2 separate regions of the Homo sapiens genome follow, and region 2 is linked to region 1. The links are contacts of gene promoters, found by promoter capture Hi-C in human tissues and cell types (Jung and others, 2019). All regions are on one chromosome and are shown on one strand. Each heading gives the region's core, a stretch centred on a gene start or on the middle of the fragment in contact. The rest is flanking DNA. Distances are from core to core; before and after follow the strand shown. Region 1 holds the start of CYP1A1 (cytochrome P450 family 1 subfamily A member 1). Region 2 has its middle 7.0 kb from the start of CSK.

The links. Contacts are between HindIII fragments. The study calls those that stand out against the background at their distance.
Region 2: a fragment that was not itself captured here is called in contact with the fragment with the promoter of CYP1A1 in region 1 in 3 of the 25 tissues and cell types used here (aorta, mesendoderm cells and thymus).

What each region holds. Positions count from the first base shown.
Region 1 is chr15:74,722,097-74,728,233 of GRCh38, reverse strand. CYP1A1 (cytochrome P450 family 1 subfamily A member 1) reads left to right here and starts at 2,706. Exons shown (of 7, transcript NM_001319217.2): 1 at 2,706-2,793; 2 at 5,108-5,961. The coding sequence starts at 5,137. RefSeq lists enhancers at 1,640-1,663, 1,712-1,726, 1,801-1,823, 962-2,161, 2,194-2,217, silencers at 1,710-1,869, 1,869-1,978, 2,050-2,129, 1,974-2,149, 1,869-2,149, a cis regulatory region at 869-2,243 and a promoter at 1,094-2,998. The HindIII fragment of the contact is 9,362 bases long and covers 1-6,137 here.
Region 2 is chr15:74,772,028-74,778,034 of GRCh38, reverse strand. No RefSeq gene overlaps it. Among named protein-coding and RNA genes, the nearest start is that of CSK, 7.0 kb to the left of the region's middle. RefSeq lists enhancers at 1-280, 2,497-2,566, 2,587-2,696, 3,796-4,373, 5,330-6,007. The HindIII fragment of the contact is 5,252 bases long and covers 1,558-6,007 here.

The sequences.
Region 1 (6,137 bases), core at 1,457-3,956:
CTTATTCCTGCCTTCAGAGTGGTGGGAGCTACCAAAGAAATTTAAGCAAGGTGGTGATGGAATGAGATTTTGCATTTTTGACAGGACCACTCTGGGTGCCACAGGATGGAGAAGTAATTGGACGGAGCAAAAGGCAAATGGGAACCTAGGTGGAGGCTAAGTGCTCCAGGGAGCAATGATGGGCCCTGGATGAGTTGTGGCAGTGGAGCTGGACAGATGCCAAAGCAGATGCCAAGCAGAGAAATGTGCCTCCTATTCTTAGCACAGTAGCCCGAGTGACCTTGCTTCTCTTACACCCCAGCCATGTCTCTATCTCGCACAGAGGAAGTCTCATGTCTCTCAATGGGGTGCTCCCTGCACATGCGGCAGGGCGCTGTGCCTCATGGGCATCCCATCCCCCTGGACTACATGCCAGGAGAACTCCCCAGTCACATGACCTCTGCACATCCCTGGTACTGCTCGGTCCTTCAAGAACCACTGTGGTGGGGGGTGGCGGGAGGCTTTGATTTTGCTTATTCCCTCTGCCAGTTGCAGTCTTTTATTTGAGATGGAGTCTCGCTCTGTCACCCAGGCTGGAGTGCAGTGGCGTGATCTCAGCTCACTGCAACATCTGCCTCCCAGGTTCAAGCAATTCTCCTGCCTGACTCCACTCCCCCCAAACCCCCCTCACCGCCCCAGTATCTGGGATTACAGGTGAGCAACACCATGCCCGGCTAATTTTTGTATTTTTGATAGAGATGGGGTTTTGCCATATTGGCCAGGCTGGTCTTGAACTCCTGACCTCAGGCGATCCTCCCGACTCGGCCTTCCAAAGTCCTGGGATTACAGGCGTGAGCCACCGCACCTGCCCAGGTACACTTTTTATCCAGATATCTATGCACATTGATTCTTGACTCCACACTCCTGCCTCTCTCCGCAAGGCCTTCCCTGACCCCCTTGTTTTGAATTGCAATCTGCCCTCACATAATCCGTACGCCTTTTCTGTTTAATTTTTTTCAACCGCACTTTTTACCCTCTCACATTCTCTAGATTTGGGGCATATTACTTGTCTCCTTCCATCAGAATGTAAACTCCACGAGATTAGGAGTGCTGTCAGCTGTGTTCCCTTCTCTGTCAATCGCCAGCGCCTCCGAACAGCTCCTGGCACATAGTAGTTGCTTGGTAAATATTTGTGCAATGCACGAGGCCGCATATGACCGGAATGGGAGGTGAGGGGATTATTTTCTGGCCTGGACCAGCGACGGATGGTGGTGCCACCGGGTTGGGGAGCACGTCGGGGATGGCGCGTAACGATGTTAGCTGGGGCCAGGTTGAGCTAGGCACGCAAATACAACTTTTTTTTTCCTGGAAACCCTGTAACAGGAAGGTTCCGGAGGGCGGGACAGCGTCGGAGGCAGGCAGCTAGGCCATGCCAAATGGCACTGGGGCTTCGTGTCGTGCCACAGGCGTGGACCGAAAATGCGGACACATGCAGGCTGCCTCTCCTCGCAGGCAGAAGCCACACGCAGACCTAGACCCTTTGCACCGCATCCCCTTATTCAATCGCGCACCCGCCACCCTTCGACAGTTCCTCTCCCTCCACCCCAACCCCACGCCGCGCGCGAGGCTGGCCCTTTAAGAGCCCCGCCCCGACTCCCTCCCCCCTCGCGTGACTGCGAGCCCCCGCGCCGGGCCGGGGAATGGGTCGGCTGGGTGGCTGCGCGGGCCTCCGGTCCTTCTCACGCAACGCCTGGGCACCGCGCCTCCGGGCCAGGTGGGGCGGGGACGGGCCGCCTGACCTCTGCCCCCTAGAGGGATGTCGCCGGCGCACGCAAGCTAGCCGGGGGTAGGGTGGGGGCTCCGCGCCAGGTGCCCCCTCCGTGGTCCCTGGGCCCGAGTCTTTCCGTGGCCCCCCGCCGCCGGATTTCTGTGCTCTGCCAATCAAAGCACTAGCCACCCCGGGAGCCAAGAGGGACCCTCAAGGGCCGGTGGGTCCTGGCTGGAGGGACCGCGCGTTGCAATCAGCACTAAGGCGATCCTAGAGGCTGCGAGGAGCCGCTAGTGAGCGCTCAGCGAGCCTGCCCCTTCGCCATCCATTCCGATCCTTCAATCAAGAGGCGCGAACCTCAGCTAGTCGCCCGGGCTCTGGGGGACAGGTCCAGCCCCGCGGCGCCTCTGGCCTTCCGGCCCCCGTGACCTCAGGGCTGGGGTCGCAGCGCTTCTCACGCGAGCCGGGACTCAGTAACCCCGGGAAGGAGGTCACCACGGGGCAGCCCCGCCCCCGCCTGCCGAGTCCTGGTAGGCTGTAGCGCTGGGGAGGCATCTGCACGCCCAGCGTTCCAGTGGGTGCAAAAATGACGAAGAGGAGTCCCCGCGCCCCAGGATGGAGCTTCCCGTACCCTCTCTTCGGGCTGTCCTGGGACTTCTCCCTCAAGCCCCCTCCTCGGCTGGGTTCTGCACTGCCCTTGGGACGCCTTGGAATTGGGACTTCCAGGTGTTCCCAGCCCTCACCCCTCTATGTACAGGCACCGAGATGTGTCCCATAGTGGGTTCTTGCCCACCCGACCCCCCACCCCCGCCGCCCTCCGCCACCTTTCTCTCCAATCCCAGAGAGACCAGCCCGGTTCAGGCTGCTTCTCCCTCCATCTCAGCTCGCTCCAGGGAAGGAGGCGTGGCCACACGTACAAGCCCGCCTATAAAGGTGGCAGTGCCTTCACCCTCACCCTGAAGGTGACAGTTCCTTGGAACCTTCCCTGATCCTTGTGATCCCAGGCTCCAAGAGTCCACCCTTCCCAGCTCAGCTCAGTACCTCAGGTGAGTTGCTGGGGGACTTCTGGCTTGCCCTTTCTCTCCCAATAAAAGGAACATTTTGGTGCCTCCAGGACTTCTTAGGTAGCTACCTGTCTAGCACCTCCAAAAAGGGAGGCTCAGAGTGTTTTTAGTGACCAGGCAGTCTAGCCCCCTAGTGGGGAAACTGAGGCCAGGGGAAGAGGAGGACTTGCCCATGGTCCCACAGCTGGTACCAGACCTCTAGATACAGATGGCATCTCATTCAGGACTTCAGGACCCAGGCTCCAGCTCCATCCCCTAGTGAGTGTCTCCCTGCCTACCCTGGGGCTTCCCCATCAAGGCCACCTGGCAGGCTGGAATATGTGCAGCCCCTCCCTCAGGCTTTCTGATGACAGGGGCTTCTCCTTGGGTGGACAGGGTGGATGGAGGGGGTGGGCTGGGTTCTTACCAGCTGTACCCTGCCCTAGCCTAAGAAGCTACCCCTGGCAGATTTTACCCTCCTAAGGGTGGCTTGTCAGTGCTGAGATGTCCTAGACAGCTGGGACAATAGAGGCAGATCTGTGCAGGAGTCCCAGGCCTTTCCTATCTCATTGACCATCTTCTTTGTCCTTTGCTGGGAGACAATCAGGGTGACAGATTGCCAACTGCAGGGAGCTGGAAATACCAGTCCCTAAAAACTCACCAGTCACATCTCCCTTGGCCTCCTACCATCTTACAAAGGCTGCAGGTCCTTGGGATACCCACTGTGCAGAAGGGGACACCATAGCACACCAAAGCCTGGCACTGTCCCCTGTTGACTCAGGGATCTAGTGTGCTTTGATATTTAGCCCCTCCAGGAAGCCTCCCTCCACTATAATACTTGTGGTAGGAACCATCCATCTCCCTGTCTTGTGAGGTTCTCCTGTGGGGAGCCTAACTGGTAAGACTGTCAGGTTCCCCACAGCAGATCTGGGTTTTCTCTTCCCTCTGGATCCAGCTGGGTACTCTGAACTGAGAGATCTTGTCTTACCCTCTCTCAGATGTTGAAATTGGACCCCAGAAAAGTAAAATGTGCAGTCCAAGATCACTTTGACTAGAATGTTGGGTCTACTGACCTCTAGTCCAGGGTAACAGGCAGAGATGCCTGATATGTTGGAGAGAGTGGTTTATGAATTTAAACACCCTTTTTAGGTCAAGCTTACAGAGAAAGTATTGCCTCAGTTTCCTTTCAGTTTAGATCCATTCCTGATTTCCCTGATTCCAGTCTGGGGTTTTCTTACAGCCTAGTGGGAACCTTCCATTTATTCTCTGCTCTCTGGTAACCTGCAAAAGGGGGAGGTCCAAACTGTTCATTCATTGAGAATTGAGCCAAAAAAAAACCCTGGCCTGGATTTCTCTGACTAAAGAGCTCAATCTAGCTGGTCTCCAGCTGCCTTTAAACTGTGGATCAGTTGAACTCAGAGAGCTGGGGCTGAAAGCAATGTGGTTTGGGAAGTGGCCATCCTGTCCCCTATCTCTTCCTCAGTCTGTCCTGGGGTCTGGTGGGATTTCCTGCATCCTGGGATTGAGCAGCAGAGAACTGAGGGTTCTGGGAAAATTCCTTCATTGATCTGACCACTCTTCAAAAGGAGGTACATGTGACAGCAGCTGGAAATTTCCAGGGAAGTGTCCCTAAGGAGTCTGAGTCCTGGCTCTGTCACTGATTGCTGGGGGACTTTGGACAAGTCAGCGCTGCTTCCCCCAAATGTTAAATGAGGCTAAAGGATCAGATGATCCCTAATTCCCCTGAGAACATGATTTTCCTAAGTGTGGTGGGTAGGACTCGGGGTGATACACCTTGATTATGTGTTTATTTTAATGTGTTAGGGGAAAAATCAAACTTGTACTTTCACATAGATATTGTTTATGATGATATGTAGGTAGATTTAAAGTTGATTTTAGGAAAATGTGAAGTAAATAACAGTACTGGTACTATGTGGAAATCACAGATTGACATTGGAAGATGTCAGTTTAGATTGGTACAGCAGTTAAGAGAAAGCGTTCTGGAATTAGGCAACTTGGCTTGGGAGTCTGCATCCAACACTTTCTGGCTGTGTGACCTTGGGCAAGTTACTTACCTTCTCTGAGCCTCATTGCAGGCTACTTCATAGATTTGTGGCCAGGGCTGAATGAAGAAGGACTGTGAAATTCTTAGCCCACAGTGGTAGTTCAACAACTTCTCCCCACCTCACCCTCTTCTTCATGCCCAGTAAGCAGTTCTGGTGGAAAGGTTTCCCCTTTCCCTGACACTCTAGATATTGGCTTTTCTCATCCCCCAATCTGACGGCTTGACTTTTTTTCTTCCTGCACCTTCTCTCAGCAGCCACCTCCAAGATCCCTACACTGATCATGCTTTTCCCAATCTCCATGTCGGCCACGGAGTTTCTTCTGGCCTCTGTCATCTTCTGTCTGGTATTCTGGGTAATCAGGGCCTCAAGACCTCAGGTCCCCAAAGGCCTGAAGAATCCACCAGGGCCATGGGGCTGGCCTCTGATTGGGCACATGCTGACCCTGGGAAAGAACCCGCACCTGGCACTGTCAAGGATGAGCCAGCAGTATGGGGACGTGCTGCAGATCCGAATTGGCTCCACACCCGTGGTGGTGCTGAGCGGCCTGGACACCATCCGGCAGGCCCTGGTGCGGCAGGGCGATGATTTCAAGGGCCGGCCCGACCTCTACACCTTCACCCTCATCAGTAATGGTCAGAGCATGTCCTTCAGCCCAGACTCTGGACCAGTGTGGGCTGCCCGCCGGCGCCTGGCCCAGAATGGCCTGAAAAGTTTCTCCATTGCCTCTGACCCAGCCTCCTCAACCTCCTGCTACCTGGAAGAGCATGTGAGCAAGGAGGCTGAGGTCCTGATAAGCACGTTGCAGGAGCTGATGGCAGGGCCTGGGCACTTTAACCCCTACAGGTATGTGGTGGTATCAGTGACCAATGTCATCTGTGCCATTTGCTTTGGCCGGCGCTATGACCACAACCACCAAGAACTGCTTAGCCTAGTCAACCTGAATAATAATTTCGGGGAGGTGGTTGGCTCTGGAAACCCAGCTGACTTCATCCCTATTCTTCGCTACCTACCCAACCCTTCCCTGAATGCCTTCAAGGACCTGAATGAGAAGTTCTACAGCTTCATGCAGAAGATGGTCAAGGAGCACTACAAAACCTTTGAGAAGGTACAGTCTGGGGAAAGGCAGGTGGGTGGTGGGAAGCAGATGGCATCAGGGCCTGGGAGGTCAAAGGTAAGAGGAACTGCATGGGGCTTGGCAAGTTCTCAGGAAGGCTTCAACCTGGGATCTTGAAGCCAGTTGTGGAATAGTCTTCTTCCTTGGCAGGGAAATAGAACTTTATC
Region 2 (6,007 bases), core at 2,934-5,433, 48 kb before region 1:
TGGAGCACCTGGGGAGATGGTGCGAGATGGGAGAACCTGGGGAGAGTGCCAGGCTGGGGGAACACTCAGGAGTTTGGTTTTGGACAAAATGAGCTTGGGATGCCTGTGAAATGTGGAGTCAAGGCAGTGTTGGGAACTGAACACTAGCTCTCTGAGGCTGGGCCACTCTTGCCTGGCTGTTGGGCCTGCCCCAGGGGAATGGAGAAGAGAGGAGAGGTTGGAGACCCACCCCTGGATGTGGGGAACCAGAGAGAAGCTTCTGGCTGCATTTTGATGATACAAGTGCCAAATGGGATAGCTCCATGCAAAGTTGGGTTGGCCTCCAGCAGTCCAGAGCTTATGCACATGTATGTGCATTTATACCCTTATGGGGTCCCCTGGGAAGGGAAGGGCCGCTCCTCTCTCCACCCAGCCTCCTCCCCTCCCCCAGCCTCTTTGCACAGAGATGACAGTTTAGAGAAGCTGGTGTGAAATAGCTTGAAACTCAGACCGTCTGGGCAGTCCCCCAGGGCAGAAAACAGGAAGCCAAGATTAAAGGCAGATTTCCAGCAAAGTCCCCTTCTATTTCCTGCAGAGCAGGTGCTCAGGCTGAGTTGGCTGCTAGCAAGAGGGGCCGGGCAGCTTCCCTTGCTGACAGCACCTCCAGGCCCCCCGCAGTGGCTGGCTTTCCAGCTTTGGGAGCTGTCCTTTGGCCCTGTCATCACCATCCCCACCAGGCCCTTAAGGAATGCGCCTCCTCCGGAAAGAGGCTGTCGCGGGAGTCATCACTAGGAAAGAGGCTTAACGGTGGCACAGACAGGAAGCAGAACTTGGGGGCACCCGTGAGGCAATGGGACCAAGCAGAAAAGGCATGGGCCGTGGGTCACTCAGGCCTGGCATGAATCCAAGGTGCAGGGTGCAGGGTGCAGGGTCTCACTGAGCTGTGGGGATGGGTTGAGACATGAAAGTAGGGGGAAAGGGGCCTTCAGGGAAGGTGGCCAGGGAGATCCGGCCAGTGCTGGGGCTGAGTGTCTCTAGGGAGAAACAGGGAGAAGCCAAGAGGCCACAGTAGCCCTTGTCATCTTAATGCCAGGGGCCTGTTGGCTGAGTGCCAGCTGAGGCCCACAGATAGCAAAGACTCAGGGAACCAGGGGCCAGGACAGGCCTCCCCTGTGACCTCTGCCCCTTCCTGCCTGACCTGCGGGAGAGCAGGCTCTTGGGGATTCCATCAAGTCAAGCAGCTGAGACTTCCTCCTGCAGAGATAAACCTTGGCCTTCCCAATAACCCCTCTCGCCCTCCTGAGAAGGCCTGAGCTCCCATCCTTCCAAAGCTGTCCTTTGGAGGAAACATGTCTGCCTGAATCTAGGCACTGAAAACCTCCCTCCTAAGGCTGGAAAGTTTATTATGAGGATGAGGCATTGGCCCAGGAGACCCAGGTTCTAGGGACAGACACTGCTTCTTTTTTTTTTTTTTTTGAGATGGAGTCTCGCTTTGTCGCCCAGTCTGGAGTGCATGGTGTGATCTCGGCTCACTGCAACCTCTGCCTCCCAGGTCCAAGCAATTCTCCTGCCTCAGCCTCCCGAGTAGCTGGGATTACAGGCGCCACCACCACACCCGGCTAATTTTTGTATTTTTAGTAGAGATGGGGTTTTACCATATTGGCCAGGCTGGTCTTGAACTCCTGAACTTGTGATCCGCCCGCCTTGGCCTCCCAAAGTATTGGGATTACAGGTGTGAGCCACCGCGTCCGGCCGACACTGCTTCTTACTTTGGGCCAGTCCTTCTCCTCTAGGCCTGTTTCCCTACCTAGCAACTGAAGGGTTTGGATTTGGTGATCCATAGGTCTGAATCCCTGTGTACAAGTGGAGGACCTTGGGAGTAAGGTGGGGAGGGGCTGCTGACTGCCTCTAATTTCTGTCCCCCTGGGACCAGAGAACTATCATTTACTGAACACCTACTATGTGCCAGGTACTTTATTATTATCATTGATAATAGCAGCTAATATTTATTGAGCACTTACTATGCACAACCGCTTTTCATGTCAGACCAAGGTCAGCTCTCTCCACTGCACCAGTTTGCTCCAAGAGGATTTCCTGAGAAGTTAGTTTTTGTTTCCCGTCGCGATGATGGTAGAAGTCTTGATTTGTTGGCTTGGTGGCTTGAGTGGTGTGGTGGTGACCCAACTGAGAGGCCACTGGGAACTGGAGGACCCCACCCTCGGGGCCTGAGGCAGCCAGCACTCAGGGGTTAACTGGCAGACCCCTGATCGCAAAGGTTTTGGGTCCTGGGCTTCCTGGTTTGATATCTCCCTAGAGAGGGCAGATCCAGAGCCAAGTCTATGACAAGAGTTCGCCAAGGTGCCTGGGATCCCTGCAGGCTGTCCCAGCGCCTCCCCCACGCACACGATTCCCTCCTCCTGGGTCCCTATCTTCTTGGAATGTTCTGTCTTGTGGGGGCAGAGGTGTTCAACAAGGCGAGGCAAGTTCCCAGAGGATTGTGCAAGTGCAGTGTGAGTGCGGAGCAGAGACCTCTCCTCACCTGAGCACTCAGACCCTGCAGGAGGAGAGGTGGTGCCTGGGGGCCTGGCAGAGGGGGCAACAGGAGCAGAGGCCCTGGAACTGGAAGGGATTGAGCTTTGGGCAAAAGGAAAACAGGCCAGGATGGGATGGGGTCAGAGCCTTGGAAGCAGAGGCGCAAATGGCCAGAGCCTGTAGGATCCCCTGTGGAATAGGGGAGTCTTTGGACTTCATCCTTAGGGCATCGGGGCCCCGCCCCCATGCTATTTGAGGGTTCACCACAGCCTCAGCTGATCAGATTTGCATGTTAAAAATATTACTTCTGCTTCTGGTTGGAGAATTGACTGGCTGTCCTCGGGAAGCTTTGATGACCTCTTCCCACATCCCAAGGCTGGAAGCCTCCCCTCTGCTATTGTCCCTCACTGGCCCACTTCTTAGTATTATAGCACTGACTACCCACTTCGTATTTGTGTCCTGATCGGCTGCTGGAGGCTGAATCCTGGTACTCAAACGTTTGTTGAATGAATAAGTGATATGAATTTCAATTAATAATAATAATAATAGGCAATGCTAATGTAGGTGTTGCATGTGCTAGCATCATTCTAAGCATTTTACGTGTCTTTTTGTTTGTTTGTTTTTGAGACAGAGTCTTGCTCTGTTGCCCAGGCTGTAGTGCAGTGGTGCGATCTCATCTCCTGCAACCTCCACTGCCACCCCCCTCCCCCCACCCTGGGTTCAAGTGATTCTCCCACCTCAGCCTCCCAGCAAGTAGCTGGGACCACAGGCACATGCGTGCCATCACACCCAGCTAATTTTTGTATTTTTAGTAGAGACAGGGTTTCGCCATCTTGGCCAGGCTGGTCTGGAGCTCCTGAGCTCAAGTGATCCACCTGCCTTGGCCTCCCAAAGTGCTGGGATTACAGGTGTGAGCCACCGCACCCTGCTGTTTACTTTTTTTTTGAGAAAGGGTCTCCCTATGTGCCTAGGATGGTTTTGGAGCTTCTAGGCTCAAGCAATCCTTCTGCCTCAGCCTCTCAGAGTAGCTGGGACTACAGGGGCCTGCCTGGCTATTCTACATGTCTTAAGTTTCATTTGATCCTCCCAATCTCTTTACAATGTAGATATTATTATTACTTCTATTTGCAGATAAGAAAACTAAAGAGGGATTTAAGGAGGACACAGTCACCAGATCCCAGCTGGGGGAAAAGGGACCCGGGATGCCACCACATCATTCTTGCTCAATTTATTACAAAGTCTTCCAGGTTGGAGTCCTGGCTGCACCCCATCCCAGCCTTGTGACCTTAAGCAAAAGTCACTGAACCTTTCTGAGCCTCAGTTTCCTCATCTCTAAAGTGGGACTGAGAGGACCCATGTCACAGGGGACTTATGCTAAACCGAGATGATGTAAAGTTGCTTGCTTAGCAGGGTTCTTTGACACAAGGCAGACTTTCACACCACGGCAGTTAGATGAATATTTTTTCTCTCACTCCTGAAACAGGCTTTGTAGTTCTGGCTCTCCCCTGCTGGGTTCAGTCGGGCTTTCCAAGGGTAGGGCCAGGCCTTTTGTCTGTTCCTAGGCCTACAGTTTCGCAATGGCTGATGAATTGAAAACCCTCATTCATCCATTCACTAAATATTGAGGGCGTGTTTACTACCTTCCAGGCACTGGAGCAGCTGGAATTGGGCAGAGCCAGAGCTACCTGGTTCCCACCTGGAGTCCTGGGCTCACAGCAGGCTGACATATCTCCCTCAATGCTGTCAGGGGTCACTTTTGTGCTGAACCCAATAGTCCCCAGGCTCTGCCTTGCTGACTGGAAGCCGCAGTTGGCACTGTTCTGGCTTTCCTCCTGGGAACTCTTTGGGCGAAAGCAGGAAAAGAGGCCCTGGGGTTCTCTGCAGTGCAAAGGTTAGAGACCTGGCCCAAGGTGGGGCAGGTGAGAAGGAGCAGGAGGTCTGCTCTGCGAGGGCTGGGAAGAGAGAGCAACTGGGCACTGGTGAGCCTCAGGCCCAGCTTTTGCAAAACCCATGCAAATGCCCCCGCCCAGGTGTTACACCTGTGAAGAAACCTGTGTGCCAACATTGTCCCTGTCAGAGATCAGAGGAGCTTTTGAAAGACCTCCTTGCCTGATTGGGGGTGGGGTGGAACTGGGCTGGGGGCTGGGGCCAGGGATAGATACTCCCTGAGCCGGAGGAGACTTTGGAAGCCCCAGTGAGTCAGGGATGAGGCCTGGAGGGCCCTTTGTCAGGGGACTCCAGAGGACCTGGAGGGAAATGCCCCTTCCTTTTGGCCCGTAAGACCCCCAGAATTTCCTTCTAGAGAGTGTGTGTTTGGGTGAGGTGAGCTCCGTGAGGACAGGGACTGGCTCCCTTTCTTCTGTCTCTCCATGGGAAGGCACAGAGCCTGTAGCCATAAATGTGTGCTGAATGAATACGTGAGTGACCAGATTTTCCCCCGGGGGTCTCAGGGCTCCCGTTCCAAGGAGAAGCTCCTTGCCTGCATCCCTATTGCCCGCGCCCCAGTCTATCTTCTTGAATCCCTAACTGGAAGCTTTGGGTCTCCAGGAGTGCTCTCCTGACATTGAGGTAGCCCCGGGAGGTCCCAGTCACCTCTCCCTCCAGCCAGGGTCAGTTCCTTCTTTTCTTTTTTTTCTTTTATTTTGAGACAGAGTCTCACTTTGTCGCCCAGGCTGGAGTGTAGTAGAGCGATCTTGGCTCCCTGCAAGCTCCATCTCCCAGGTTCAAGTGATTCTCCTGCCTTAGCCTCCTGAGTAGCTGGGACTACAGGCGTGTGCCACTATGCCTGGCTAATTTTTGTATTTTCAGTAGAGATGGGGTTTCACCATGTTGGCCGGGCTGGTCTTGAGAAATCCTGACCTCAAGTGATCCACCTGCCTCGCCCTCCCAAAGTGCTGGGATTACGGTGTGAGCCACCGAACCCAGGGCCGATCCTTTTTTTTTTTTTCTGAGACAGGGTCTTGCTCTGTCACCCAGGCTGGAGTACAGTGGTGCGATATCAGCTCACTGCAACCTCTGCCTCCTGGGCTCAAGCAATCCTCCTACCTCATCCTCCCGAGTAGCTGGGACTACAGGTGCATGCCACCACGCCCAGCTAATTTTTGTATTTTTAGTAGAGACGGGGTTTCACCATGTTGGCCGGGATCGTCTCGATCTCTTGACCTCATGATCTGTCTGTGTTGGCCTCCCAAAGTGTTGGGATTACAGGAGTGAGCCACCGCGCCCAGCCTGGGGCCAGTTCTTATCCCCTAAAGATTCCCACCCTCACCCCGCAGCCAGGTTGCCTCCTGCAGCCTGCAGCCCTCAGCGACTCCAAGTCCTCTGCAGCTGGTGGTGTAGCCAGCTCTCAATGCCTGTCTCCACCAAGTGACCAGCCAGCAGTGTGTTTGGCAGCTCACTGAGGAGGCCCACCAGGTGGGCTGCTGGGAGCCAGCCCCTTGCGTGGGGCCTGGCGCGGGTGCTGACACCCACCTCCACCCCCCGCTTTGCTGAATGA